Regions from separate parts of the Homo sapiens genome. Here region 1 is linked to region 2. The links are contacts of gene promoters, found by promoter capture Hi-C in blood cells and fetal thymus (Javierre and others, 2016). All regions are on one chromosome and are shown on one strand. Each heading gives the region's core, a stretch centred on a gene start or on the middle of the fragment in contact. The rest is flanking DNA. Distances are from core to core; before and after follow the strand shown.

Region 1 (2,957 bases), core at 296-2,795, 520 kb after region 2:
CACTTCCTGCTTGTGTCAAACATCAAGGTCAGCCAGATGTGAGAACTTAGGGCCTTCTCAGGTTTACCCTGAGCATGTAGAGAGTGCTGCACATGTGTATGTCCTTCTAGATACTCAGAATTACATCTGAATTTTTCAAAGCCCCTGAATATCTGATTCCTCAGATTTTCTTTTTTTTTCTTCCACTTTTATTTTAAGTTCCCAGGTACATGTGCAGGATATGCAGGTTTGTTACATAGGTAAGTGTGCCATGGTGGTTTGCTGCACAGATCAACCTATCACCTAGGTATTTAGCCCAACATTCATGAGCTGTTATTTCTGATGCTCTCCCTCCCCCGACCCCTCCAAAGGCCCCAGTGTATGTTGGTTCCCGCCCCCCTCCCCACCTGCCAGTTTCCATGTGTTCTCACCATGCAGCTCCCAATTGTAAGCATGTAAATATGTGGTGTTTGATTTCTGTTCCTGGATCAGCTCCATCCATGTCTCTGTCAAGGACATAATCTCATTCATTTTTATGGTTGCATAGTATTCCATGGTGTATATGTACCACATTGTCTGTATCCAGTCTATCATTGATGAGCATTTGGGTTGAATCCATGTCATTGCTATTGTAAATAGCACACATTTTCCTTTTAAGCTTTTTTTCCCTTTTAAGCTTTTTGCTAGTCTATCTTTTTTTTGCTGCAATTGTTATTCATTTCTTCAGCAATGAATGCTATTTATTAAAATACTTACCTGCAATGTTTCAACAAACAGTCTGTGTGGGCTTATATTTCCCTTTCTCTTGGATAAATAAATACCTAGAAGAGGAATGGTTGGATCATTATGGTAAGTTTATGTTTCTCTTTATATGAATCTGCCAAATAGTTTTCCAAAGTATATTATTTTACATTCCTGCTAGCAACGTATGATATCCAGTTGCTCCAAATCCTCACCAACAAGTGATATTAATTTCTTTAATTTTAGCCATTCTAATGGGTGTGTGGTGGTATTATATAATGGTGTTAATTTTTGTATCCCTGATGACTAGTGATGTTGACCATCTTTTCATGTGCCTACTGATCATTCTCATATACTGTATTGTGAAGTATCTGTCCAGATATTTTGCCAGTTCAGAGGGAATTGTTTTTCTTCTTATTGAATTGCAAGAGTTCTTTACATATTCCGGATACAAGTCTTTGTTAGATATATGTATTATAAACATTTTGTGGCTTATCTTTTTGTTTTCTTAACAGTGTTTTTTGAAAAGAAAAATTTTAAAATTTTGATTAGATCCAATGTATCAGTTTTTTCTTTTCTAGTTTGTGCTTTTTGTGATCTATCTATGAAATCTTTGTCTACCCCAAGGTTGCAAAGATTTTTCTCCGTTTTCCTCAGAAAGTTTTACAGTTTTAACTTTCAATTGTAGATCTATAATTCATTTCAAGTTAATTTGCATGTCTTGTTACATTCTTTTACAATAGTGTACCTTCTATATTTTTATGTGTCTTATCCTATAGTTCTCTATGGTTTATTTTGGCCATAGAGGAATGTCATATCTTCCAAAAAGGTTTGGGTGGGAAGACAGGAGATAGGGCTTGTGTTCTAGTCATTTGACCTTAGATAAAGTTCCTACAATGCTCTCATCTGTAAAATGGCACTAATTATATCTTACCCTATCTGCTGCCCATGAATGTAGTGAGAATATAAGGAGATGATACAGAAGCCAGCATTTAGAACTGATCTAGTTCCCGAGAAAAAATGTGGGGTGCTGTAACTATTCTTATTACTAAGTGATAAGAATCCATTTTTTTTTTTGAGATGGAATCTCACCCTGTCACCAGGCTGTAGTTCAGTGGCACGATCTCAGCTCACTGCAACCTCCACCTCCCAGGTTCAAGCAATTCTTCTGCCTCAGCCTCCCAAATAGCTGGGACTACAGGTGCCCGCCACCACACCCAGTGAATTTTTGCATTTTTGGTAGAGATGTGGTTTCACCATGTTGGCCAGGATGATCTCGATCTCTTGACCTCATGATCTGCCTGCCTTGGCCTCCCAAAGTGCTGGGATTACAGGCGTGAACCACCACACCTGGCCAGCCATTTTCTTTCTTTCTCTATCTCAGTGTTTCACTAAGGATGGAATGTTTACCTCTGAATGTAATCAAGATGACTTGGGGTGATATATGATATAAATATTTATCACATTTTAATTATCATATGTAGATACTTATTTTCACATATATTAGAAAAATATTGTTTTTTTTCTACATGTGAAAACAGTTTTTATAAAGAACATTTAAAATATTTATGTGCCACAGGTTGATGAATAAAATAGTGAAGGTAAAGTCTACATATGGCAAACAAAAAAAAAATTTAGGGTGCTACCAAAATACCTGAAGTTTGGGGAAACTTTAGAGTTTAACTATTAAGGAAGTGATTAGAGAAACTATTAGGGAAGCTTGTCAAAATGCAGATTCTTAGGCATCACACTGCTATGTTCTGATCCACTTGACTGTGTTGGGGCCTGGAACCCACACTTTTAACAAGCAGCTCAAGAGATTTTGAGGTAGTTGGTATAAAGTCCACATTTTGAGGAACATTGCTCCTGCTATAGTAGTTCTCTACTGCTGCATAAGAAATTACCCCCAAAACTTAGCATCTTTAAAAAAATTAACAATTGTTATCCCACACAGTTTCTGTGAGTCAGGAATCCACCAAGAGCAGCTGAGTTGGCTGGCTATTGCTCAGGGCCTTTTATGAGGTTGTAGCCAGATGTTGGCTATGGCTGTGGTCTCATCTGAAGACTTGACTGGGGCTGGAGGATCCACTTTCAAGATGGTGCACTCACGTGATTGGCAAGTTGGTAATGGCTGTTGGCAGAAGGCCTCAGTTCCTTGCCACATGGACCTCTCCATAATGCTGCCTGGGCATCTTCACAACATGGTGACTGGCTTTTCCCAGAGCAAGTGTTTCAAG
Region 2 (3,005 bases), core at 186-2,685:
CACGGAGAGTAAATGGCAAAGTCTGAATTTGAGCTCAGGTCTCTTTGACTCCCCAGAATCTGAACTGCTAACTTCTAAATGCTTAGCGTTTCTGGGGCACCTCCCTAGATGTTTAATTTCAGTATTTGTGGATTAAGATGGAGGTTTCCATTCTCTGCTTCAAGGAAAAAATTTCTCTCTGGGAAGCCAAAAGAACTAGCCAGGTCCTTCTGGAGAGGATACAAATTAAAAAGTCAGGGAGAACCGAGGGGGTGGCTTGCGCCTGTAATCTTAGCGCTTTGGGAAGCCGAGATGGAGGGAGAGCTTAAGGTCAAGAGTTCGAGACCAGCCCGGGCGACATAGTGAGACCCGGTCTCTAAAGAAAATAAAAAATCAGAAATAGGTCGGGCGCGATGGCTCACGCCTGTAATCCCAGCACTTTGGGAGGCCGAGGCAGGCGAATCTTCTGAGGTCAGGAGTTCGAGACCAGCCTGGCCAACGTGGTGAAACCCCATCTCTACTAAAAATACACAAATTAGGCGGGCGTGGTGATGCGCGCCTGTAATCCCAGCTACTCGGGAGGCTGAGGCAGGAGAATCGCTTCAACCTGGGAGGCGGAGGTTGCAGTGGGCCAAGATCGTGCCACTTCCCTCCAGCCTGGGCAACAGAGTGCGATTCCGTCTCAAAAAAAAAGAAAGAAAGCAAGACAGAGAGAGAGAAAAAAAAAGAAAGAAAGAAAGAAAAGAAAAGAAAAGAAAATTCGCCGGGCATGGTGGCATGCACCTGTAGTCCCAGCTACTCGGGAGGCTGAGATGGGAGGATTGCTTGAGCCCAGGAGGTGGAGGCTGCAGTGAGCTGCAATTGCTCCACCGCACTCCAGCCTGGGCGACACAACGAGACCCTGTATTTTATAAGAAAAAAAAAAGTTGTTTAAGTCAGGGAGGAAAAGACACAGAGAGGAAAAGAGTAAAGAAGAAGAAGGCGGCAAACTCAGCAGCATGGGGTGGAGGCTAAGAACAGGGGCTGCGCAGTCAAGCAGGCTAACCGGGTGAAGGGGTGAAAAGCATCAGCATCTTCATTTCACAACCGGGAAAAATGAGGCACACGACAGCGGCTCCGGGACGAAGAGACCCGAGGAAAAGACCGCCGTGGAACTTCCAGTTTCCGGGCCCGCCACCTAGTGTGCCCCAAATCCGCACGCCCATCGGGTTTCCAGCACCTGCTCCTCCTGCCTGTGGCCTAGGCCCCGCCCCTCCCGCTGCTTATTGGCTGCTACGTGAACGAGACAAACGCAAGCAACAACCAATGGGAGTGGCCCACGGCGCGTCTTTCCCGGGGAAGCCGACGCGGACGCGGGAACCCGGAAATGCGAGGGAAGGACAAGTGGGGAAAGCCAATCCGCCGCGACGAGGGCTGCGGGCGGTTCAATGGCAAGTCGCCGGGGGCGGGGCCAGAGGCCGGCGGAGAAGGAGGACCCGGGAGCCGGCGGCCCGGAGCTGGGAGCGCGGGGAAGGCGGTTGGGGTTCTGACAGCTGCGCGCGGTGAGAAGGGGAAAAGCCCTAGGGGCTCGAGAGGATGAAGCCGGGAAGGGTGCGACGGGGCCGCGAGCCCTGGGCGGGGTTCGGGAAGGGAGGCTCTGCAGTCTTGGAGGGGACTCAGACCGGTCCCCTCCCCTCTCCGGGCCTCAGTTCTCCCTTTCTAGGGAAGTGTGGGGGAGAGATTCGCGCCTCCCAGAACGCACTCCTTCCCTGCACACACCCCTGGCACCGGCGAACTGCCCCCTTTCCTGTACCGCCCCGCCCAGGAGCCTGTCCCCTCGGGAAGCCCGCCCAGACCCCTGGACCCGCGCAGCACTCCAGGCGCACCCCTATTAAAGCGCACCCCAAGCCATTTCACATGTTCTGTGGCAATGGGCCAGGATCCCCATGAGACTCAGAACCCCGTGATCCATCAGTCATTCCCGGGTCAGGACCAGCCCAGAGCAGGTGCACAGGCCCTGCTTAGTAATAAGGTAGAAATCGAGACCTGGGGACCGGGTTCAGAGGCCCTGGGGTTTCCTTCCGGATGCCTCTGTTTACCTCCTGTGGGCCTTCTGGAATTTAACTTATGCTCTCTGTGTCTTGGTTTCCCTTGTCTGTAAAATGGAGCTAGCGGTAGCTCTTCCTTCATAGGGTGGCATGAGGGTGAAACGAGGCAATGCGTGGCCAGTACACTGCTCAGCACCTAGGACACCATAGTTGCTTAATAAGTGCTTATTGTTAGCATAGTGTTTGCATGCCTGGCCCCACCTCCACTCCCACTGCCAGCCCCAAGCACATACAAGCCATGTTGTCACTGAGGCCAAGCACTGTGGCCCACAGCCTGAGTTCCTTTCGAGATGCTCGAACTGCTCATCTTCTTGATGGGGTCCCTTCTGGACAGGCCAGAAATGGAAGGCCAGAGAGGGGAAGGGCACTGTGGGAGCTGTGGCTGAATATCAGGGTGAGGGCAATAAATGAGGCCACCCAACAATTGTGCTTATCAAAGATTGGGCGTCAGAACTGCTGTGGCTGATCTGCCTGGGTGTCTGTCAGTCATTTATGTCCCAAATGTTTGACATATGTCCACAAATCCAGTGTTTGTGGTCAGAAGCCACAGGGATATATGGGAAGGGGGGACACTTTAGAGCCGTGGGGTTCCTGAGTTCAAGTCCTAAGGCTGTCACTTGCTCCCGGCGAGACTTTCGGCAAGGGACTTCACCTCTCTGAACCTCAGTTCCCTCACCTGGAGAAGGGTGAAAACATCAGCTCAAGTCGTTGAAGATTGCAGGAGGTGACCCATGTGAGGCATTTGGTGCTTAGCACACGGCCTGGATTATGGCAAGTGCTCATTAATTGTTGGACCACAGCAGTGTTTTCACATTCATACTGCCCAGGAGGTGGCACCAGTCCTTCTAGGCTGGCCCCTCCTCTAGTGAGATCCAGTCCTTGACTTGCCCCCACCCCATCTCTCTAGTGAGCTAAAAGAGCAGAAGTCTCCAAACCCAT

The links. Contacts are between HindIII fragments. The CHiCAGO score rates a contact against its expected background, and 5 or more counts as called.
Region 1: a contact is called between a fragment that was not itself captured here and the fragment with the promoter of FICD in region 2, in 1 of 17 cell types (neutrophils). The highest score is 5.4, in neutrophils.

What each region holds. Positions count from the first base shown.
Region 1 is chr12:109,037,833-109,040,789 of GRCh38, forward strand. It overlaps a transcript of USP30 not described here. Among named protein-coding and RNA genes, the nearest start is that of USP30, 13 kb to the right of the region's middle. The HindIII fragment of the contact is 1,784 bases long and covers 654-2,437 here.
Region 2 is chr12:108,513,842-108,516,846 of GRCh38, forward strand. It overlaps FICD (FIC domain protein adenylyltransferase), which reads left to right and starts at 1,436. Exons shown (of 3, transcript NM_007076.3): 1 at 1,436-1,520. RefSeq lists enhancers at 908-967, 2,870-3,005. The HindIII fragment of the contact is 9,938 bases long and covers 1-3,005 here.